Regions from separate parts of the Homo sapiens genome. Here all the other regions are linked to region 6. The links are contacts of gene promoters, found by promoter capture Hi-C in human tissues and cell types (Jung and others, 2019). All regions are on one chromosome and are shown on one strand. Each heading gives the region's core, a stretch centred on a gene start or on the middle of the fragment in contact. The rest is flanking DNA. Distances are from core to core; before and after follow the strand shown.

The links. The method cuts DNA at HindIII sites, captures the fragments that hold promoters and counts their contacts. A contact is called where the count stands out against the background at its distance.
Region 1: a fragment that was not itself captured here is called in contact with the fragment with the promoter of RORB in region 6 in 3 of the 25 tissues and cell types used here (H1 embryonic stem cells, dorsolateral prefrontal cortex and mesendoderm cells).
Region 2: a fragment that was not itself captured here is called in contact with the fragment with the promoter of RORB in region 6 in 2 of the 25 tissues and cell types used here (H1 embryonic stem cells and lymphoblastoid cells).
Region 3: a fragment that was not itself captured here is called in contact with the fragment with the promoter of RORB in region 6 in 4 of the 25 tissues and cell types used here (H1 embryonic stem cells, IMR-90 fibroblasts, dorsolateral prefrontal cortex and 1 more).
Region 4: a fragment that was not itself captured here is called in contact with the fragment with the promoter of RORB in region 6 in 2 of the 25 tissues and cell types used here (H1 embryonic stem cells and spleen).
Region 5: a fragment that was not itself captured here is called in contact with the fragment with the promoter of RORB in region 6 in 4 of the 25 tissues and cell types used here (hippocampus, mesendoderm cells, spleen and 1 more).
Region 7: a fragment that was not itself captured here is called in contact with the fragment with the promoter of RORB in region 6 in 2 of the 25 tissues and cell types used here (lymphoblastoid cells and mesendoderm cells).

Annotation. Positions count from the first base shown.
Region 1 is chr9:74,317,919-74,321,493 of GRCh38, reverse strand. No RefSeq gene overlaps it. Among named protein-coding and RNA genes, the nearest start is that of RORB, 180 kb to the left of the region's middle. The HindIII fragment of the contact is 9,047 bases long and covers 1-3,575 here.
Region 2 is chr9:74,635,618-74,639,048 of GRCh38, reverse strand. The region is part of intron 3 of RORB (RAR related orphan receptor B); the gene reads right to left. Among named protein-coding and RNA genes, the nearest start is that of RORB-AS1, 140 kb to the right of the region's middle. The HindIII fragment of the contact is 3,945 bases long and covers 1-3,431 here.
Region 3 is chr9:74,299,965-74,303,493 of GRCh38, reverse strand. No RefSeq gene overlaps it. Among named protein-coding and RNA genes, the nearest start is that of RORB, 200 kb to the left of the region's middle. RefSeq lists a silencer at 387-681. The HindIII fragment of the contact is 4,874 bases long and covers 1-3,529 here.
Region 4 is chr9:74,335,078-74,338,732 of GRCh38, reverse strand. No RefSeq gene overlaps it. Among named protein-coding and RNA genes, the nearest start is that of RORB, 160 kb to the left of the region's middle. The HindIII fragment of the contact is 3,601 bases long and covers 1-3,100 here.
Region 5 is chr9:74,361,416-74,364,968 of GRCh38, reverse strand. The region is part of intron 1 of LOC105376087 (a long non-coding RNA gene); the gene reads left to right. Among named protein-coding and RNA genes, the nearest start is that of RORB, 130 kb to the left of the region's middle. The HindIII fragment of the contact is 7,043 bases long and covers 1-3,553 here.
Region 6 is chr9:74,495,975-74,499,204 of GRCh38, reverse strand. It overlaps RORB (RAR related orphan receptor B), which reads right to left and starts at 1,870. Exons shown (of 10, transcript NM_006914.4): 1 at 1,222-1,870. The coding sequence starts at 1,228. RORB-AS1 (RORB antisense RNA 1) reads left to right here and starts at 652. Exons shown (of 5, transcript NR_125791.1): 1 at 652-963. RefSeq lists silencers at 1,638-1,932, 1,837-2,026, 2,022-2,234. The HindIII fragment of the contact is 7,823 bases long and covers 1-3,230 here.
Region 7 is chr9:74,271,908-74,275,117 of GRCh38, reverse strand. LOC101927329 (a long non-coding RNA gene) reads left to right here. Exons shown (of 5, transcript XR_242624.4): 1 at 1-5; 2 at 297-332. Among named protein-coding and RNA genes, the nearest start is that of RORB, 220 kb to the left of the region's middle. The HindIII fragment of the contact is 7,237 bases long and covers 1-3,210 here.

The sequences.
Region 1 (3,575 bases), core at 454-2,953, 180 kb after region 6:
ATAATTGAAGAAAATCATACATGTTAGAGGTTAGTAAAAATAAAAATGAAAATTCTTCCCCATCTAAGAATTTGGCCCCTCCACATTCTGTCTCAGATTAAGAACCTCTGCAAGTGTTTTATTTTTGTGAGTTGTTGGAGTGCGGTGAAGATTTGGTGTTGGTTAAGTTTCATGTAACAAGACAATGCAGAGGATTTTTTCAACTATTAAATCAACCCACAATTTTATAACCAGAAATGCATATTGAAGCAGAGCTCTGATGCTTTCTCTGCCTTTGAAATCTTGATTCCCATTCTATGCTGACTTGTTCTGCATCCACCTGAAGTGCATTTCTTTACCCTTTCTACAGTGAATGTATGACTATTGTCCTACTCTATAGAGTTCTCTTTGCTTAAAACAAACAAACAAAAAACACCAAACAAACAAAAGAATCTCCTCTTGATCTTCTGACTTCCCTTCATGTGGACATTCAGTGGCCTCAGGGCTTCTATCATGGCTCTATCTCCCATGAATGGCCCATCTCCAACCCCCATAAAGGAATCTGAACAAATGAGACGGACCGGTTTCTCACATTAATTAGGCTAAGTAGAAGTTTCATGAGAATTTAACATAGTACTTTGCCTTTTGCTCTGACTTCTTTTTGGCAGACAAATAGAGTTACAATACCGTGTGTGAGTCTGTTTCTTTGCTGCTGATAAAGACATACCTGAGACTAGGTAATTTATAAAGAAAAATAGGTTTAATGGACTCACAGTTCCACGTGGCTGGGGAGGCCTCACAGTCATGGTGGAAGGTGAAAAGCATGTCTTACATGGCAGCAGACGACAGAACGAGAGCCAAGCGAAAGGGGTTTCCCCTTATAAAACTATCAGATCTTGTGGGATGTATTTTCCACCACGAGAACAGTATGGGGGAAACCACCTCCATGATTCAATTGTCTCCATCTGGTCCCTCCCAGGACATGTGGGGATTATGGGAACTACAATTCAAGATGAGATTTGGGTGGGGACACAGCTAAACCATATCACCATGCTTTTGTATTTCAGGAATGCGGTAGAAACCTGTTAATGCAGTTCAGGCCACCAGCCTCATTCACATTTTTGTGATGATTCCCTCTAACTAGGATATAGCAACAAACCAAAGTCTAGCACCCTGAAGTGATCTGGCTCCGTGTCGTATTTAGTTGCCAGATAATATACGAGTCAGTTTGTTAACTTACAAGAGAGCAGACTTCTCACCTTCCTTGATGAATCAAAATTTGCTTCCTTAAACATATTGTGCATGTTTCTCTAAGTCTTACAAAATCTTATTGAGGAGAAAGCACAAGCTAGTTGATTACATTGAGTTTATAGCTAACATGGCTTAGGTGATAGAACCTGTGATCGAGAACAGTTTGCCGTACACTTTGCAATCGGGTGACTTCTTCTGTGTTACTTAGATGTACAGTGAATGAATCCATAGTATAAATGTCATATTATACTCCAGCTTATCTGTCAATCTTTTCAAAAAAATTTAATTTGAAATTTCTGTGGGTACATAGTAGGTACATACATTTATGGGATACATGAGATGTTTTGATACAAGCATGCAATGTGAAATAATCACATCATAGAGAATGGGGTACCTATCCTCTCAAGTATTTATCCTTTGTGTTACAAACAATCCAGTTACACTTTTCAGTTATTTTAAAATGTACAATTTAGTTATTATTGACTATAGTCCCCTCTTGTGCTATCAAACAGCAGATCTTATTCATTCTTTCTGACTATCTTTTTGTATCCATTAACCATCCCCATCTTCTCTCTCCCAAGACCCCCACTACCCGGAAGTAACCAGATTCCGGGAAGGTAGTAGAAGGTAACCATCCTTCTACTCTCTATGTCCATGAGTTCAATTGTTTTGATTTTTAGATCCCACAAATAAGTGAGAACATGTAATGTTTGTCTTTCTGTGCCTGGATTATTTAACTTAACATAATGACCTCCAGTTCCATCCATGTTACAAATGATAGGATCTCATTCTTTTTTATGGCTGAATAGTACTCCATTGTGTATATGTACCACATTTTCTTTATCCATTCATCTGATGATGGACATTGAGGTTGCTTCCAAATCTTAGCTATCGTGAGCAGTGCTGCAACAAACATGGGAATGTAGATATCTATTTGATATGCCGATTTTCTTTCTTTTAGGTATATGCTCAGCAGTGGGATTGCTGGATCATATGGTAGCTCCATTTTTAAGTTTTTGAGGAAGCTGAAAACTGTTTTTCATAGCAGTTGTACTAATTTACATTCCCACCAACAGTGTACAGGTGTTTTCTTTTCTCCACATCCTCACCAGCATTTGTCATTGCCTATCTTTTGGATATCTGTTGATATTGCCTAAAAATGATAGATGAAAGCCTATGGAGGAAGGGGGCACAATGAACCTAGGAACTGTGCCATGGAAACTTTGGTTGAGGGAATTGGGGTATTTATCTTGGAAGAAAGAAGACCATGAAAGTAACACTTAAGAATCAGAATTAACAGTCTTAAATAAGTGAGTTTCAATGTATTTTCTATTGTTCTAGAGAGCAGAACCACTAAAAAAAAAGAAAGGCATATTTTAGCTTAATCATTTCACAATGTAAACACATGTAGCCCACACATTGTACTCCGTAAATAATACAATGATTATTTATCAATTAAGAATAAAATTTTTCGGGAGGCTGAGGCAGGAGAATGGCATGAACTTGGGAGGCAGATCTTGCAGTGAGCTGAGATCGTGCCACTGCACTCCAGCCTGGGCGACAGAGCAAGACTCCATCTCAAAAAAAAAAAAAAAAAAAAAAAAAAAAAGAATACAATTTTTTAAAATTGCAAAAAATTAAATGATGTAAATCCACAAGTAAACAAATTATATTAAAAATGAAGGTAAAAATGTTAAAAAAAGAAAGAGATTTCTATTAATTAGATTTTTAAGAAATAAACAAGCAAAAACAGAAGGCAATGACTTCTTGATTCTTTGAAGTCTTTGTAGGGGGAATGGGAGGGGTGGAAGAGATAGTGAAGGTGAGCTTCTGTCTAAATGATGGTGAAATGAGGGTGTGTGTGGGGCAAGTGGACAGTTTCCAAGGGCTCTTTCGACTCCATGATTTATGCTTCTGTGATTTAAGAGGGGATGCCAGAAGGAAGCTTTCACTCTGCAGAAAATGGTTTAATGATCTACATTAACATTTTAGTGCATTATTCATATTTCTGGCATGTGTCTATTTTCTTAAGAACACCTTTCTGGGGGCCATAGCTGTGACTGCCATTAACATAGAATGGTATTTTATTTCTGCAACTCTAGGAACAGAAGGACATATTAAACATTTTTACCATTTTGATCCGTGATAAAAGCATCTCCTCCAACTCCTAGCTCATGGGATCATAAGTTCATATATTTTTTCTTTTTTTTTTTTATGCCACAAGACAATCTAGATGTTTTGTAGAAACTGCGAATGTTAGTCCCATTAAAATGTACACATTTACTAGCCCACAATTTTTGCATATAATTCTAGGGGCATGTGCAACCCCTGAAGCCCATCAACAT
Region 2 (3,431 bases), core at 210-2,709, 140 kb before region 6:
AGAGTATGCTGCCAAGACCTCTGCCATGGGTAACATCTAAAAACTCAACAAAGAAAAGCTCTGCATTTTTTACAAAATTGACTTATCAGGTCACTGAGCAACTGAAATATTTCCAAAGAAACAACTTAAAACTACTACATTTTAGAGTTATTTCAGGTATGATCCTAAATCAAAGACTTCACTGACAATGACTGTAATACTATTCTATAATTAATTTTCCATTTATTTCAGAAACATTGATGAGCCAGTGTTTCAGTTTTGTGCCTCTTCTTGCAATAACAGTGGTGACAAATTTGGGAAAAAAATTACAGTACATGGCAAAAATAAACCTACTGACTTTCTTGACATAATTCATTTTCACTGTTTGTAAATACATTTGTTGTATGCATAGAACTATTTTAACAAAGGCCATGTTAATATTTCAGATATTAGCATTCTTCTTATCACTACATATTAATCAGACTGGCATATATTTTAACTGTCTGCCCCTCTCAAACTTGAGTTATTCTGTTAATGACATTCACTTGAGTATAAAGACAGCCTTTTGTTAAACTGCTACCTCTTAAAGAAACCAGCACAATTCTGTATACATTGCAAGTGCTTATAAATATTCAATGATGTGGTATTTGCTCATGATATGCTCTTAACCCTCATTTTGATCCCATAATACTAAAGAACAATTTAATGTGAAAGTATCGGAAATCATTTTATATTTATTTGAATTGTGGTATTCTAAATGGAATAGAAGTTTTGGATATAACTAAAAAGTAAAGTCATAGCTCCTTCAAAGATTTCTATTAACATAGCACATGGACATGTGTTTTTGGTTTCAAGAGAGCCCAACTGACTATCAATCTATGACTTTCTATAAATTTCCAAAATCATTTTATCTACTACCTTCGGTTGTAAAGTTCTCTATATTTACATTTTGCTGCTTACCAATGAAACTGGTCTCAATTTAACTCTTTTCAGCTTCAGAGATGTGCCTCTTCTGCCACCCTTTTTTTAGTGCTGTAGGCTTTGTATTAGAAGTCTGATTCAATCTACCCAAGCCTATTCATTATTTTAAAATCTCTCTCTTCTCCTTCCTCTTTTTCTCCGACAGAACTCCTTGTGATGTTGAAATGTTCTCTTTGCTTTCCAATATGGTAGCTGCAAGCTGCATGTGCCTAATGAACACTAGAAATATAGCTAGTGTGACTGAAGAACTGAATTTGAAATTTTATTTAATTTAAATTCATTTAAATTTAAATTATTTAAATAGTGACATGTGGATTGGGCAATGTAGTTCTGGATAGAAGCTTAATCTGTGAAACCTGTCCTTTTAGGGCAACTTCTGTCTTTTTGTAGAGACATGCCACTTGGGAGGACATATACTAGTGAGTATCAATTTATAGTAGCACAATTGGAAACAGTTATCCTGAAGATTCCTTTGTAAAGGGTGTAGGTAAAAGAAAAAAATAAAATGATGGAGAAGATTCAGTAGGCTTATGCATGCTGCCAATTCACACACACACACAGACACACACATGCACACATGTCTTCACCTTTTTATACACATAAAGACACACGTATGTGTTTCCAAGTGGATTTGATTTTTGATTCTTCGTTTAAGCTAAATTTGAACAAATTCATTATTGATAAATTTGATGGCTTCTGATATATTCGATAGCTAATAAACCGATATAGCAGTGAAATTTCAGGAGAGAATGAAAATCCAGTGTTTTCAACAGTTATTTTAAGCTATTTCCTAGTGGCCACATTAAGCAGCCAGGTATGATGAAATAAACATTCTTGGAGCCTAATTGACAGAGAGCAAATGCATATACCAAAATGAAGATGCCACTTTATCTCTGAGGGAAGTAGGGGGCTGTAGAAAGCAGTTAGGTATGAGGGCACCTCACTTTGGCTATTGGTACAATTTCTAGAGCACTTTAAGAATACTTGCTGAATCAGAAGAAGGTAGGGATTCTTCTGACTCAGAAATAACCGTGTCTTTCATTCTTGAGCCTTTACTAGACATAGGTAATCAACCATAATTTCAGGGCTTTTGAATCATTCAATACTACATACTAGGCAATACTTATCAATAGGAGGTAAAACCTATTCAGCTTCCCTGGTATTAGCATAATTTACTTGGCATAAGGCACCCTTTCTAATCAAGGTTCAGACCAAACTTTCTCTGTATGATATAGTGAAGAGGCAGCTTTTTCTCTTAGAGAGAATCATTTGTTTTCTCTTCTGCTACAGCCCCTTCTTCTCCAGATTCCCCACCCCACCCACACCCCCGTGACCATTTCTCCTCATGATAAATTTCACATAAGATGTGCTTAGGAGGCATTTTTGAAGATGTCCCCGGCAGCCTCAGGATTGTCTCTGGACCTAAAGTTGAAATGAATCATTATTCTTAATCCTCAGTGTCCTTAGACACTATATTGCTCTTATTTGCATAGAGGTTTATGTGCTGCAATGAATTCCTTCCTTCTTGAGAATAAATTGTGGCTCTGTTAAATGACCCTCCCATCCTCCCGACACATTTCTTTTATGTTACGGGATTCAGACCGTCTAAATTTTGTGGGCTGATGTCACTAAATCTGTTGAATCTGCCTTGGATCATATATTCATCTCTTGCCCATGATTCTGTTCACCAGCACAGACTTAGACCTGCTCTTCCAGAAAGATACTTCCTTTTATTGTAGGAAGAAGTAACAAAATCAAATACCCTATGGCTTATCTCTTTGCACAATTATTAATGGAGCTTTTCGGACACTGCGAATTAAAGTGCTACCTACTGCCACATGGTAGAAATGAAGTGCAAAGTCATCAACTCAGATTCCCATATAATTACACGAAATAAGTATCAAAAACTACTTAATCCTCTCTCTTAATTTATTTGCCTTGATTATACAGAAGTACCCATTGCTATAAATTTATCTTAGGAGTAAATATATCTGGTTAGTGAGCCAAGTAAAACAAGTAAAACAAAAAAAAATCAGTTAATAGAAAAATTTTGGAAACCTCGTCTCTGTAGCTTTGGAAGCTACCTATAAACTGAAGGGTTTCAGGTCAGATTCTGTTTTTTTTTTTTTTTTGGTCAAATTTGTTTTATAGGTGTACTTTTCTGCAGGACAAGTTTAGATGGATTGGGAATTAGAGAAAAGGTAAAGAATCTAATCACTCACAAAATCCCTTTATACTAAATGTATGCCAATTATTCACATTTCTTTAAAATTTGGAAGTTTCTTGTTTTGTGTGTGTCTATACAGCCTTGAATTTCACTAGAGGGAGTGCGACCAGAGGCCCAGAATCCACACTGACTGACATAAAGACAGAAAGTGTCAGGGCATTGTCTATGTCTTAGGCTCTAGGTAGAAGGGATTTCCATAGTTTATTCAACAAACATTTAGGTGTGTGCTTTTAAGCAGAGCCTG
Region 3 (3,529 bases), core at 721-3,220, 200 kb after region 6:
TTAAGTATTAGCTGTATTAAATATTAAATACATTAAATATTAAATTAAATTTAATACATTTAATTATATGTAATTTTTAATTATATAGAATATGTACATATACACGTACATATGTAAATATGTATATATACATTTAATTAGATAGAATATGTATATGTGCATATTCCATATGACTCAGGAAAAAGTGTTGCTCCTATAAATATAAAATTTGAACCAAAAGTAATCTTTTTTGAGACGACGTCTTGCTCTTGTCACCCAGGTTGGAATGCAATGGCGCGATCTCAGCTCACTGCAATGTCCCGGGTTCAAGCGATTCTCCTGCCTCAGCCTCCCGAGTAGCTGGGATTACAGGCGCCTACCACCACACCTGGCTGATTTTTGTATTTTTAGTAGAGACGACGTTTCACTATGTTGGCCAGGCTGGTCTCAAACTCCTGACCTCAGGTGATCCACCCGCCTCTGACTCCCAAAGTGCTGGGATTACAGGGGTGAGCCACCACGCCTGGCCTGAATCAAAAAGACACCTGACTGGCTGTGTTCTTGGGCAAGCAGAATCTGAAAGTGGTGGAGTTCCTGCACATTCACAGTGCATTCCTGAAACTCGTTTCACCTCCCTTTTCTTTCTCCGGTCAAGTTGTATTTGCTTTTTATCTTTCCCTATTGGGAAATTACTGTGTTCACCTGTCTCATAATTTTACAGCAAGTCTACATAAACTTAGTGATAAGTATCTTACAAGCCACAGGAGTCTTCATCTTCTTGTCCTTTTTCCTTCATTTTACAAGATTAAGCGCTAGAAAAAGCTTTTATCCCTCTGTGAAACTAGACATTTTAAAGCTAAATATTGAGGGTTATATAATTTACTGTGCTTCTTCTCTTTTTATTTGGGTGAGCAAGAATTTCAAAACCAAATTTAAAACTCAAATTTAATAATTGTTTAGATCTCTATGACTGGAGTATCTGCATTTTAACTTCAACCCTACTTGGAATCATTTGTTCTAATCTTTTTGAACCTATTTCTGAGAATTATTTTAATATGTTTATATTATATGTATATTTTAAATGGTTAATTTAAAAAACTGAATGTAAGTGGGTGTGTAAATGCAAAAAAAAAAAAAAGCTAAGAAGCCTAATTGATTTTCTTTGAGCCAATAAGTTTCAGGCTAATGTACACTCTTATAATTAGTTTTTACTCACTTTTTTTGTTGAATGCCAACTGATCATCATACAAGGCAAACAAATTTTTTAAACTGAAGTCCAATTTACATATCAAAAAATGTGCTGATCTTAAGTGTACGGTTTCATGAGTGTTGACAAATGCACATAATCATTAACTTGTACCACTATCAAGCAATGAAATATTTCCATCAGTTCTCTCATAATCCTTCCCAGTTAATCTCCAGCATCCAGAAACAATCACTGGTCTAATTCTTTTTTTTTTTTTTTTTTTTTTTTTTGAGACGGAGTCTGTCTCTGTCGCCCAGGCTGGAGTGCAGTGGCGCAATCTCGGCTCACTGCAAGCTCCGCCTCCCGGGTTCACGCCATTCTCCTGCCTCAGCCTCTGGAGTAGCTGGGACTACAGGCGCCCGCCGGGCGTAGGCCCGGCTAATTTTTTGTATTTTTAGTAGAGACGGGGTTTCACCATGTTAGCCAGGATGGTCTCGATCTCCTGACCTCGTGATGCGCCCGCCTCAGCCTCCCAAAGTGCTGGGATTACAGGCGTGAGCCACCGCGCCCAGCCTCACTGGTCTAATTCTTATCATCATAGTGTAGTTTTGCCTATTCTAGATCTTTCTGTAGATAGAATCATAGTATGAACTCTTTTATATGAGGCTTTTGTTCACTCAGCAAAATGTTTGTGAGACTTATCCATGTAATTGCTCATATTTGTAATTGCTCATGTTTTTAATTTGTTCATTTTTATTGCTGAGTAGTATTCCATTGTATGAATATGCCACAGAATTTTCAGTTCTATTTAAGGAAATCAGGCTGTTTCCAGTTTGGGGTTATTATAACAGAAACAGAAGCTGCTAAAAATATTCCTATACAAAGCTTTTTGCGGTTGTATTTTTTCATTTGTCTAGATACATATGCAAGAGTAGAAGTGTTGGTTCTTAGGGTAGATGTACTTCTAACATTTTAAGAAAGTACTAGATTTCCAAAGAGATTTTACTGTTTTACCTTCCCATTGGAAATAGGACTCTGATTGTTCCATATCTTCACCAGGATTTAATGTTGTCTTTTCTGTTTAACTTCTAATAACACTATAATGATATCTCATTAATTTGAATTTCAATGATGGCAAAGGATATTGATTACTGTTTCACGCATATATGTGCAATTCACATATCTTATTTTGTGAAGTGTCTGTTCAAGTCATTTTTCCATTTCTTTGGTGGAGAAGTTGTTTTTCATGTTATTAATGAGTTGTAGGAGTTAGTTCTTTGTATATTCTAGAGATAAATTAGATATATAGGACACAAATATTTTGACTCATACAGTATATATATTTTCTCAATGTTTTGTTTCTTTCGATGAGCAGAAGTTTTAAATTTTGATGAATTCAAATTTATCATTTCTTTCATCATTAGTGTTTTCTGTTTCTTCTCTGTGAAATCTTTGCCTACTCCCAAATTATAAAAAATTCTCTATATTTTATTTTCTGAAAGCTGTATAGATTTAGTTTTACATTTAGCTCCAAGATATATATAAAATTAATTTTTGTGGATGGTGTGAGGTCAGTGTGAATATATGGATATTTTTCAAAACTGTTTGTTAAAATACTTTTATTTCCCTATTGAATTGTTGGGGCTCTGTTAGTGTATATCATTTTACCATATATGTATGGGTTTATTTCCGGAGTCTCTATTGTGTTCTATTGATATACTTCTGTTATTTTGCCAGTGTCATACTCCTTTTATTTCTATAACTTTAAAGTAAGTCTTGAAGGCAGGTATTCTTCCTATATCATCCATCTTTTCTAAGATAAATTTGGTTATTTTAGGTTCTTTGCATTTCCAGAAAAATTTAAAAATAGGATTGTCCATATCTACAGGAAGTTTTTTGCTGGAATTTTGCTCAGAAGTGCATTGAATCTATAGGTGAATTTGGTGACAATTGACATTCTGGCATATTGAGTTTTCCAAATCCTTAAATATGGTGTATCTCTACATTTCTAAGCCCTTTAAAATTTCTCTAAGCAATATCTTATAGTTTTCATTCAGAGATACTATATGTCTTTTGTTAAACTTATCCTGAGTGTTCCATATTTTGGTGAGCAACTGTAAATGTTATTATACAGTAATTTTAATTTTGGTATAATTACATTTCTAAGCCTTTTAAGATTTCTGTCAGCAATATTTCAGAGTTTTCATTCAGAGATACTACATATCTTTTGTTAAACTTATACTGAGTATTTTATATTTTGGTGAGCAATTGTAAATATTATTATACAGTAATTTTAATTTCATTATCCAATTCTTTATTGTTAGTATAAAGAAATGTAATCGATTTTTTTCATTAACTTTATAT
Region 4 (3,655 bases), core at 51-2,550, 160 kb after region 6:
AATAAACTTCCATTCCTGCTCTGGAACTTGCCTGGGTCTCTTTTTCCGCTCTATGCTCCTCAGTCGAATTCTTTCTTCTGAGTAGGCAAGAGCTGAAGTTGCTGCAGTCATGTACAGATTCGCTGCCTGTAACTCAGGGTAACTCAGATCTCTTCCACCGCTAACAGGTTCAGGTCTGAGGACTTCATTTCTGTGATTGCCATCTTCAGTTACCGTTGCTTAAGCTGAACCTACAACCTTAATTTTTTGTTGGCAACTGACATGGCCTTCTAACTCCTATGCAAAGTTTTTGTGTCATTTGTTGTTACATCTTTTCTTGTTTGGACAAAATTTATCTAGCTGAGATTATGACTACTTAAAAAAGCATTTTGTACTGTTGTCAATTTTGGAGCCATAAGGCTCAATAGAGAAGAACAATCACTTTCATGCCTGGAGACATCCCTTGAGGCATTTTACTTCTCAAGGACCAACCCTTAGGGAATATTGGGCCAAGTGAAGTATTCCCAAGAGAAAGAGGGCTCAAAGCAGCCAACTGTAATCTTCATGTATTTGTCAGCTTAGCTTTCTCAATGAAGACTGCTTTTTGAAATCTTACTCTTTCCTTTCTGGTTGCATCTTCTTTCCATCCCCTCTGATTTTTATGGGGCGCCTTCAGTCTGTGCAGCACTTCCTGCCCTTGCCATATTAAGAGACTTTTAAAGTCCCTCTGTTTCTGATTTGAATTACACACAAGTGTTTTGTAGTAACTGGTGCTTATTTTGGCCCTTTGTATAAGTAATTGAACATCCATTAACAGAAGATAATTGGTTGACAGTTTCATTATTCTTGGAATAAATGGAAAGTCTGTGGACTGAGATTGAAGAGGCAAAAAATAGTCTTGGAGATGCAGAGGGTAGATTTATAGAATATATTTCTATATTTAAGTGTTAATGCCACACTTAAATAGATGAAGCACATATTTTTTTCATGTTTTGATCCATATTTTTTACCTTAACTAAAGTGCTTCAAATGACATAAAAATATATGAATGGATGGAGCACCAGAAACCAAAGGTAAAAAATTCATTTTTAAAGTAGAAGTTCTTATCAAGTGAGTGAGATAACACATCTGAGGTAACTGGATAAAAATAAAAGTTATTGGTCAATGAATTGTTTCATCAGCATAACATCAAACTATAGTGTGATAGATTCCCCCCCACTCTTCAGCCAAGTTGATTGCTTAAATTGTAATGTGCTGCTAAAATGATTTTGTTAATTCCATGTGAATCTTCCACATATATAGGGGGTTATGAGTATATCTCCTGATTTTCTTTTGTGGGTGAACTCACCAGGTAGCATTGGTGAAAAACTAGAAAACCTCAGGTATGATTCACCAGCTGAAATTTTAATTGATGATATTGCCAGTATTTGTAGTAAGTTTTGCAAAATGGCAGGTTTAGGGTAACTGAAAGAGTTTATTGATGATTACAACTTAGCCCAGCTAAATTTGATAATGATATTTCACACCTATCCCAAGTAAAGAGGTGAACACTTACATAATGAAGATCACACTGTTAGTCAGTGTAGCCCTAGCCGCAACCCAATGTCTACATCAATAGAAGTATTATATATGACCCATCAGAGTTAGTAGAAGACATGCAATTCATGCAACTGATAATTCCTTCTTAACCACTCAATAAATTATTGTTCTATTAGATGTGAAAGATTTAGAACTTGGGCTCAAACTTGGACACTTGACTATCTCAAGAACCAGTCTGCCATGCTTACATTCTAATTTCCCTTTCCCTTGAACTTCAGTGATTCAAATGGAAGGCATTGTTTTGTTTGAAACAGCCGTTGATGGGTTTTTAGAGGAAAAGTGTCTAATTACTGGCAGCAAAATCCCTCTAGCTCTCCTCTATTTTTTTTTTTTTTTTGAGATGGAGTCTTGCTCTGTTGCCCAGGCTGGAGCACAGTGCCACAATCTTGGCTCACTGCAGTCTCCACCTCCCGGATTCAAACAATTCTCCTGCTTCAGCCTCCCAGGTAGCTAGGATTATGGGTGTGCACCACCACACCCGGCTACTTTTTGTACTTTTAGTAGAGAATGGGTTTTGCAATGATGGCCAGACTGGTCTCAAACTCCTGACCTCAGGTAACCTGCTCACCTCGGCCTCCTGAAGTGCTGGGATTACAGGCATGAGCCACAGTGCCTGGTGCTCTATTTTTGAAAGATAAATGAGGAGACTGTAGATGTTTAACGAAGTTCAATTATGTTTCCTTTTAGTTCTTGCTATTGAAGTTGATTTATATGTAACCACAGTGAATTGTTTATATCCACAATCAGTTTTCTTCTTGTAAGTGTGAGAGATCACAGTGGCATTTATACCTGCTAACCATAAGCTTTCATTAAGATGATTGATTGCTTGCATTGATTTGTTTGATATGTGGGCATTCCTGTGGTATGAATTTTCACTTTAAAATGTACACAGTTCATCATTTGGGCTCTTCTCTTGCATTGCTGTTAATGGGATTTTAAACATGCATTCTTCCAAGAGCCTTCCCTTGATTAGGTAAACATTTATTATCATTGAAGGAGTAAGATAGGAATCATTGAATGTTTTTCCGGATTTTGGGGGGGTACTTAATGAACATTATTATTCTTAACATTTAGATGTTTCTTCTACTTGATATCAGTGATTGCCAGTTTCTTCAGACCCCTATAACGAGAATTGGAAGCAGATTTATAATCAAAGGGATGTTCAACTTGTAACACTAAAAGGAGTAGAAACAACTCACACTAGTTCTTTTAATTGCTGGATGACATTTTAAAACTCCTTTTGAACTGTGATTCTGTGGAGTCACTGTACTAAGTGAATTGCTGCTTATTAGAAAATCTGACTCAGGAAAAAAATACATGCATACACACATATGAATATATACAATTTATATATATATAATATATACATATATAATATATGTATATATATAATATGGGTGATTTGGTACACAGGGAGAGAGGAATATTGTCAGCCAGATACACTTATTGAAAGTTCTAGAGAAAAAGTTTTGGTAAATAAGGTTCCCACCGCCTAGTACAAATTTCTAGCATCCGTAATTTGGAAGCAAATGACACTTACACACTTACAGTAACTTGTACTGTATCCTTCAAAAGATATGTCCATGTCTTAATTTAAGTACCTGTGACTATGACTTTATTTGGGACACAGGGCTGTTGCAGATATAATTCAATTAAGGATCCAGAGATGAGTTCATTCTGGATTTAGGAATGGACCTGAATCCAATGATTGTTGTCCTTATAAGAGAGGAGATGGAGATTTGACACACACTGGGACAAAGGCAATGTGTAGATGGAGGCAGAGATTGAGTTACACTGCCACAGCCAGGAGGCTTGGAGTGAGGAGCCAAAATGCCCACTACCAGAAGCTGGAAGAGGCAAGGAAAAATTTTGCCCTAGAGCCTTCCAAGGAAGCATTATTCTACACCTTGATTTTGGACTCCTGGCTCCCGTAACTGAGAGAGAATAAATTTCTGTGTGATAAGCCACCACATTTGTGGTAATTTGTTGTAGCAGCCTTGAGAAATTAATAAAATATACATACTGTCATCCACACGAAGGGCTCCCCCTAGATTTGTGCCACTTGGGACCTGCATGA
Region 5 (3,553 bases), core at 496-2,995, 130 kb after region 6:
CATGCTGGTCTCATTCCTAGGCAATGGGTTGATAGGTGAAGCAAATCATCGTGACACATGTTTACCTATGTAACAAACCTGCACATCCTGCACATATACCCTGGAACTTAAAATAAATAAAATAAAATAAAATAAACAATGAAGGTGAAATAGACATTTTAAATATTACATTTGTTGAAGTAGATTGAAGTAGATTTATCACCTGCAGTCCTACACTGAAAATAATACTATAGGGTATTTTTAGGTAGGAGAAAAATTATTTCAGAAGGAAATAAAGTGATGGTAGAAATGCAGGGCAAGACAAATTGTACATCCATGGGTTAATCTAAATAAACATAGCCTATATAAATAATATTAATGTTATATTTATTGTATCATATATATATAAGTAAAATGTAAATACACATAAACAAATACATTTCATTCTGCAAAGGAATTAAAGAACGCAGAAATGCTTGTGCTGCCCACATAGAGGGTCACATAACTACCTGTTAGACTTGATTGAGTCTAGAATACAACAAAATGTAAATAGATGAGATGCTCCAATTGTAGAACTGGTTTTTTTTTTAAATTCAACTCTATGCAGTTTAAAGAAGACATATCTAATACAGAAGGAGTCAGATAGCTTGAAAGGACAACACTGGGCAAAATGATTCCTAATAATTCCACAGACAAGCCAGGGTGGTGAGTAGTATATTTATAGCATTGTCTTAAGACTACAATTCACATGAGAGACAGTAAGGGAAGAGCCCTTTGTTAGTAACATTGTCTTTAGTGGACATGGTTTATAGGAAGAAGGAAGACTGAGAACGTTAATATATTAAGAAACCTTGTTCCTGGTACATTTATGATTGAGACAAAAAAGAAAGAAGATCTTTTAGTCCCTTTCAAGTGACTTGGTTGATAGAATTATAAAATACTCTACAGGACCAGTGAGGATCTGGGTATCAGTGACATTGGTGTCTTTCATAGTTTGTGTACTAGAGGAAACACAAATTTATACTCACATAAGGAAATCACTATGTTCCTCTGAAAATAAGTAAAGGGAAATGTTTACTATTATATTCAGCATGGCTGTTGTAATTATAACCCATTTGGTCAAAATTCACTTAATTGAGTGCAAATAATAAATGAAATAGCTCAAGAGGGTGATTCATTTATATCTAATTAAATAGACACACAAAAGTTGTCATGCACAATGATTAACAGACTTCACCCTTTGTTGATGTAAAGAATGATTTTTAAAAACTTTATTATCCACCTACTTCTCCACCCACAGGCTTGAGCTATTTCACTAATATAAAATTGTTAAATCTATTTTGTGTAATACTTTTATGAACTGTTTTTAACCACAAGGGATACAATAGAGTGCTATATTCTGTTACTTTTTACACATTTCTTTTTAAAAAAATTTTTCTCCCTTTGGTCAAAATTTTAATTTACCCAGTATTGCACGCTTTTCTTTTATGGCAAAGTTCATATCCATGAAACATTTTATTTAGTTCCTGGAGTGGGTAGCATTTGTTGATACAGTACATTTAGTTAATGAGACAATGATACAGTTAATTATCTGTAAGAAAACTCAGGACCAATATAAGCATGACCCTCCATTTATAAGTAAACCACTGCATAAATATTTATATTAGTCTCTGCAGTGTGACTAACGTTGGAAATTCATTGTACTTCTGAAGAAAAACCACTTGGAGACCTTCGAGTAGGATTTACTTTCCTGATCAATTGTTGATGAGATTTTAATCCTTGATAGTAGGAAGTAGTAAGTACAGGAGGGAAGCAGAGGAGATGGGGAGCAATTTGCTCTCATAGAGAGGCTGGCAATCATGGGCTGGGATGGGGAGAAGGCAAGCCGAAAAAAGAAACACTCAATATAAAATTAGAAAATTATAGATGAGAGTGGGGAAATCCTTGTTTAAATAGAAGATACTTTGTGTTTGGTTAAATTTATTTAGAAGGATAATGTAAATTTAAGCCATGCTCAATGCATTTGGGGGAAAATATATGAGATAGATATTTTTTCAATGGGTAGGAACAAAGTAGCAAACTGAAAAACTTGTCTTGCTTCAGGGGTAGTACCATAATCTGTAACAAGCTTGTTGTTGTGGCAGTGTTTACACATTACTTAGGGGCCTCGAGGTCCTAGAAATTACCTGAAGGAGCATGGTGGCCTCCAGGCAGAGTTGCTGAGCTTCCTATGTTGTGTCAATCAAAAATCTATGAAAATATGGCCTCTCAAAGTCCCATGTGATAGGGCAGAAGCCTTGGAAGAGCAGTTTTATCTTCCACAACGATCAAATTTTACAGGGCAAAGTGGAAAGGAAACCAAGTTATGGACACGCTGATTTGACATCTGTGCTGGACAGCACCCCCAGCTCACTCTAGGCTAATGCTATTAATCTGGGGATTGTTGGAGAAAAGACCAGCTCCTCAAATCACTTTGGACTTTGAAGTGGAGAACTTGTTTATGAAGGAAAAGAGCCTAATTATTTAGGCAAATTCAACCAGGAACTCAGTAGTGATTTTGGGAAAGAAGCTTATCTCTTTATTCAAATGCCATTTGACCCATCCAGGGTGTCATTGTCTTATACTTAATGACTATATTAAGAATTTGAATAAAACGGTTATTGCCACATTATGTGGGTGTAAAATTACGAATGAAGGAAATTGAAAACACATTTTTAAGGTCAAGCCTTGATAAATTTTCTCTTTGCCTTTAATCTACGGACTCATGACCTAAAATTCCATTTTGCTCATGAGGTGTTTCATGTTACAGATCGTTCCTGCCTTCTGGAGCTTTTACTCCTACAAATATTACTAGCTTGTATATGATAGATACTTTTGTTTATAATTTTGGTTACTTCCGCAAATATAAATAGGTGACTCAGTCTCTTCAAAAGAAACATTTGGGAGTCCTGTGGAACACAAGCCACCGTTATGTCATCTCTTACTTCAGCATCCTTTGTGGAGGAACAATTAGGAAGAGAAGTAAATCTTGTGTGATTGTTTGCCCAACAGAGAAACGTAACTGGAGTAGTATAAGATATTTGACTGTATCCATGGAAACCTTCTAGACTACCATTCTTAGATTTTGCTTAGGCTAAAGCAGGTGACAAGGTTCACAAGTTTTAAAAATGTTTTTGAGGGGGGATGGGGAGCTATTACTCAGTGATGACAGAAATCTGATAGTTAAGGAAGGTTCTAGCCCTTAACAACCAGGAAGCAACATATAAATCCCAGGTGTGTGTCAAATGTGACTCAGGTAATGATACAGGCAAGTCACTCTCTTACTTCACTAGAGAAATGGCATAGTTTCAAGACCTGCCCATGCTACACTAATCAGTATCATCATCACCACCATTTTACAGTCAAAAAGTGCTATTAACTCTACAAAGCAGTTTCGTACTAATGATATCTTTGATTCTCACAGATAAGCAGACAGATAGTACTACTGTTCATTTTATAGATGAGGAAATCAAGGCACCTAGCCATTAAATAATTTGCTTAAAGTCATATAGCTAATTAGTATCAGATCAGAGCC
Region 6 (3,230 bases), core at 621-3,120:
CTGGAGCTGGCCGTTACTAACTTTCTGTTGTCAAGACCCAGGGGTACGTGCGAAGGATAGAGAAGAGCCCCCGATTAACCGCTGTGTGGCCAGGAAGAGGGACTGGGAGTGGGGGTGGGTGCCCAGAGCTTGCACAGATCCCCATGTCAAGCGGACACCCGCCTGGCTCTTCAGTAAAAGAGTGAAGAAAGGCCGAGCACAGCGCGAAGGAAACCTGAGGTCTCCGGCAAGGCAGGAGAGGAGACCAAGTGACTCCCCGAAACCCACCCTCCAGCCCTTCGAGAGGCCCAGAGTCCAGCCGGAGCAAGCGTAACGCTACAGTCCCTGGCGCGCATCCCTGCAGACCCCAGCTCGCCCCGGGGTCCCGCCGCCGCCGCCGCCACCGCCTGCGACTGCGAGGGTCCTGGCCCGAGGGTGCACCAGCACCTCCTTCCACTACCGGCCCTTTATCTGACAAAAGAGCCGGAGCCCATGACTCTCCGACTGTGAGCAGTGTGGCCTTTCCAAGCCTCCAGAACTTTCTCATTACAACTTTTCCGGGGTCGCACTACTCCCTGGGCCGCGCGGGCTCGGGCACGAGGACCTGGCCAGGGCGCAGCGCCGGCACGAAGGCGCGCGCCGCAGAACTGTTTCCTCAGCCGCGTGCCGGGGAACTAACTGTTTCCTCAGCCGCGTCCAGCCTCGCAGCACTGCTCTTCTGCTTGCTACTCCAGCGAAGGGACATGCCTGCTGGCCAGGACGCTTAGTGGGCCTCGTAACCTGGCGAGTGTGTGCCCGCGCGTGTCCACCCTGCCCCCGGCCGGTGCGCCCCGCGCGCCCAAACCCGGCCGGCGACCACTGCGCGCCGGGCGCTTCCAAACTGCTCCTGTCCAGAGGCATCCCTCTTTCGGCTTTCTCCATCCCGCGTCCGCTTCCGCACCCGAGAGCGACAAGCAAAAAAGATTCAGTGCAACTCAAGGACTGGTAAGAACCAACTAGCCTGTCTCCCCTCTCCAAAAAAGCGCCCTCCCGCGTCCCTCCAGAACTCCCGAAAGACATCAACACCTTCCCGCAACTTTCTACGCCCAGGCCATTTGCAGCCCCACCTGCGAGAGCGAATTCGGGGAACTGCGCCTGGGCAACCTCTTTCCCTTTCTGCTGGGTGCCCTCCCCTCCCCCATCTCCCCGTCTGGCTGGAGTTGGCCGGACTCGGGGAGCCTCGGTGCCCGCAGACTCGCTTACCTCGCATGGTGTGGCCGCTCTCCCGCTCCGCGTAGTCATGAAGCTGCTCCCAGCCCGAACCCCGGAGAGCCCAAAAATCCCGCTCAGCACGAGTGAAGAAGGTGGTCGGCGAAGAGCTGCTCTGCCGAGAAAACCATCCCTTTAGGCGGACGCCGTGGCTGCAGGGTGACGTTTGCCGCCGCCGCCGCTATGTTAACAGTTTTGATGTTGGTGGTGACTGTTTTGATGATTGTTTGTTTGTTTGTTTGTTTTCAGGAAGGGTGAAAAAAAAATGTTCTGGCTGTCTGGTGCCTGGGTTTTGTTTTGGTTTTGTTTTTCTTTTTCTTTCTCTCCAATGTGCTTGCTTTTTAAAAAATGCCACCGCCTCCGGCTCAGAAGATTTCTTTTGTGATCACTTGGACTGAGGAGGAGGAGGAAGGGCAGCAGCAGGAGGAGGAGTTGGTGGTGGTTTTGTTAGTTACAAAGAAGAGGGAGAAGGAACAAGGGGGAAAAAAGGAAACAGAAAGAAAAGAAAGAAAGGCGGTGTGGATGGCAGAGCATGTGCGTTTTCACATGACATCTGTGCCTGTTAGCGGATCCACAATGTGAATTTTCACTGTTCAGTTACAGGGAGGAAGGGAGCAGCGAGAGAGAAAGAGAGGGGAGAGATGGAGAGAGAGCGCTGAGAGGGGCTTATACGCGAGGGCGGGCTTGGCCGCGACTTCCAGGCCCCGCCTGCTGTCAGCGCAGCCGCCAATCAGAGCCCAGCAGCGCCTGGAGAGGCTGGGACCGCGGGGAGGGGACGTGGTGGAGGCGGGGGGTGGGGCGGGGGCTGGGGACCAGGGAGTCCGAGGTGGCCGGGGCTGCGACGGGGAATTCGAGACTGTCCGAACTGGGCAGAGAAGAAGGGCCGACCGGGAGAGTCGGGCAGATCCGCAGGTGACAGGCACTTCCGACTCCAGCAGAGAAGGGGACACTGATCACGGAAAACCTTCGGAGGCAAGAGACGCGGGGCTCCCCGGGTTTCACGTTCGGTCCCTGTCTCGCAACCCCCGCGGGCCCGGCAGAGTTAGTTTTGAATTTATGGCAGCGCTTTGCCGAGCGCTATTTGGGTAAACTTCGGTCTCCGGCGGGGGTTTCCGTGGGCAGGTGGTTTGGGTGTTGGTGGTAGAATAATGCAAACCCACTTTCATCACTTTTAGCACAACTAAAATGCAGTCCCATGGAAGTAGCTGTCCCCTTCCTTTAAAAACGTCCGTCAGATGCTCCCTGACCCTCTTCTAAAAAAAAAAAAAAAAGAAAGAAAGAAAGAAAAAAACGTGTATATGTTCTTTTGTCTGGGAAATTGATTTTTATTAGCATTTGGAGACTCCCCTGGCGATGGACTACAGGACTGAAGGAGAACAGCTCAAATTGGCGGTGTAGCCACCTTACTAATTCAAGAGAAATGGCTGTTGCTAGAAGGTGTGATTGCAGGGTGCTCTTTAGAAAGGTTTTAGAAGGAAGACATTGTTAACTTTAGTTAGAGGCGATTGGTAACTGAACATAGATAAACTTACTTGTATTCCTTAGGTGAAAATTGTCATCTATGACCATTTATTTGTATTTTGATAAAAATCTAATACATATATCCAAACTGTTCCTTTGCAAGTTTTTCCAACTCAGTTGACAAAATAAGCATATAGATGATTACATCTACTTCCTTCCCAATAGTAGGGAACTTCTTAAATACTTGAGTTAATTGAACACCCTAAAAGATTGGGAGGTGAAAATATTTGCCTCATTCACTCAGTCTTGAGGCTGGGAGATGTCTACTCATTAGCATACCTGTTGGCACAGCAGGCCTCATCATCATTTAAGTATCCAAATAATTTGATTTTTGACTGGTATTTATTCATGATATGTCATGTAACACAAAGTACAATGTAGAATTGGCAGTTATTTAGTTAATTAGGTCGCTCTACACTGCCAAGTAGTTTTTTCCTTCCTGATTAAATGAAAAATGAATTATCTGCTGAATTTTCACCAGT
Region 7 (3,210 bases), core at 16-2,515, 220 kb after region 6:
AGTCGGTGAGACCAAGAACCCACCAATTCCAGACATAATAGCAGTGGGGTGCTGTGGGAGTAGGGGTGAACTGGAGACACTACAAACTGGAGAAGCTGGAATAAGGAAGAACATTTATTGGGTGAATGTAATTTGAAAAATTGCAGAGCAAAAGCTGATTTACCAATGTTTACCCCTAACACTGTCTACCACACCCAAACAGTACTAATCTAGACTTGATATTTGTTTTATAAAATCAGATCATAATGACAGGTCTTAAATAGTAGTAAATAATATTTGTATTCTCCTTTTTATAGGTGTATGTAGAAAAGGAAGGACAATATCTCAGGAAGGTGAGCTCCTGAGAGGGACTTTGTCCTATAATCCATCCATCCCTGGAAAATACATGAAATAAGACTTGGAGATAAAGGCTGAATGCAACAGTAAGCCGGTATAAAAGTTATGTTCTGGGAGGCAATGCTACGAGTTACAGAGGAGCACTTTATTTATTTGTGTATATTTATTTTTAATTGGTGTGATATTTAGAGTAGTCAATCATTTTGACCCCTCTTAACTACTTATTGATCAGAATATTGCTAATTCCGCATGGTGCATATACTTTTTAAAAAAGACTTATTCAATTACAGTGATGAATGTAATTTATTTGTCTTTAAATTTGCTCTGATATTAATTAATGAAAAAATGCATTACAGCCTCTTTGTAAAAGATGAGGGCAAGGTAAACAAGGCATGCTGTCTCTGAGGGCTTCAGATTTTATCTCTAATACTCAAGATGATAAACTTAGATATTACATTAGCTTTAGATATGTTAGTAATCAAGTGTGGCCAGATAGCTGTCTCCTGATTACGTATCTGAGAAGATAAATATGGTATTTATGCCAATCAAAGTCAACTTCAATTCACTTTTTGACGAGTTCCAAGCTTAACAGAGTGTTCTGCAAACAGAAGCAGCTTAAGAGATCAGCTGAAAATGAAAAAATTATTTATCCCTCAGCCATCTTAAGGCTAAAGATAAACAGTCCCTCGATATATTCCTTAAATGTGAGAAAAGCTGCAAAAACTTAGCAGGTTTACTGATATGGCATAACTTATGTAGGAATTGTCTGGTCTATGAAAAGGTGTTTTTTTAAATTGTGAAAACAATGTCACAACATTACAAAAAATTGGGCAAATACAAGGGAAGATATCAATCATAATTTCAACACTCAAACATTAAAATGCAATATTTTTGATATTCGTGGGCTCTCTTCCTTTTGTTTTTCATCCAAACGATCTTCCATTATTGCAATCACAATGTACTCATAAAAACTTTGTTCCTTCTTACTAAAGTTAGCTGAAGAAGGATTTTTATGTGTTGCGATATGGACTTACAATTATCCATTTTAAAAATTGCATAGTTTTCAATCAGGTAGATGCACTGTAATTTAACATTCTCTTAACTGTGGACATCTCATTTACTTTTAATTTTTTGCATAAAAGAGTTTCCAATGAATGTCTTATGATAATCGCGTTTTCCATTTTGGGGGGAATTTCTTTAAGATAATTCCTGGATTACATAATGACATTGTCTAAAATTTGGTGGCTTTGGTAAGACCAATTACAAGGGGGTGTTAGAGACTAAAAGCCAGTTTTCAATGGGTTGAAGGGTGAGTGGGGGTGAAGTCCTAGAACATTTTTCTCCTGACTGTAGAAAATATTTTCAACAAAATAATTGAAGCTATAGGAACAGGAAAGAATGATTAAATGAAGGAGGTCCTGAAAAGGCAGGAGGGGTCCAGAATTGTTGAATGCCCATGGAAAGTTAACAGTAGGAAAAGGAACATCTCCCCCTTTAAGTGAGGGAAATCACAATTGTAGATATGGATGCAAGTTAGCCTGTTGGTTTAGTGACAAGAAGTTGAAGGAGTTGCAGGGGTCATTTGCCTGGAGGAGAACAGAGAATATCTACAATGGTCATTATTAAGAGTGAAAGAAAATGGACTAATGATAATAATAGCTTGAAATTTCTCTTGTGTACTCCATGTGATTGCAAGTGTGCTGAGTGCTTTTTATGAATTGTCCCATAATAGTTGTGTCATTTTCCACCAATTCTTAATGGCACTAGGATAGGCAGGGTGAAGAATTTACTCAAGTATGAGTTTTTGCGAGGTTAGTGCCATGGAAGAGCAATGCTAAAAGGCAATTAAGAATCTTGGCATGAGAGATGGGTGGGATCATCCTTCTCATGTAGATGGTAGAGGGTATAGAAGAGCATGCACTGTTGAATATTTTATGCAGAAATAAGGACAAATGTGTGCCACTGCATTGGCTGAATAAACCATAAATAAAAGGACAATTCGGGGGGCCAAATCTTTTGTATTACTGGAAGAAATCTGACTCTGATATTACTGGCTTATTTCCCCACTAGCTGGGCATGTCCTCTATTTCTGCACAGAGCGCCAATGACATACAGGTAGAAAGCACAGTGGAAAAATAGAGTTTAAACATCTTGAGTGGTCCTAATAATAAGAGGAGTCATGTATTGTCATTAACATCATCCTGGAGAGGCATACAGCACAGGCTTCAGGGCCAGCCTGCTTGAGTTAGATCTAGGCTCTGCTACTTACCAGCTGTTAACTTTCAGTTAGTGTTTCTATGCCTCAGTTCTTTCACCTGTAAAAAGGGTATGATAATGGTATATGCCTCATAAGATTGTTTTGAGGATTATAAAATCAAAACCTATAAAGCACTTACAGAAGCTAAGTTTAGAGTAGCTGCCATCAGGTTTATTATTAAAATAACAGCTACCACTTGTTGAGGCTGTAAGTACTAATGATATGCTAAAGACTTTATTACTTTAGTTCATCTAATTCTCACGAAAACTTCCTGAGATAAGACTATTTTCTCCATTTTACAGATGAAGGAACTGAAGCTTAAAGAAATTAAATCACTCACTTTATGCCATTCCAACTTATAAATGACAGAGCTTGGATTCAAATCCAACACTGTTTGAACCCAACGTGTTAGGCAACTTTCTTGAGCTGGTGAAATTTCAGTGTGTGTGTGTGTGAGACTTGTGTATTCTTCTGTTTTTCCCTCTCTCTTGCTAAAGCTCTTAAAGTTTGTTCTGGAGCTATCGCAAATGTGGCTTATCCACATCCCGTCACGTTTCTTTACCATTTTCTTCCTGCCCATCAGACCCTACTATGTTTTCCCTCACTGGAGCGTCCTG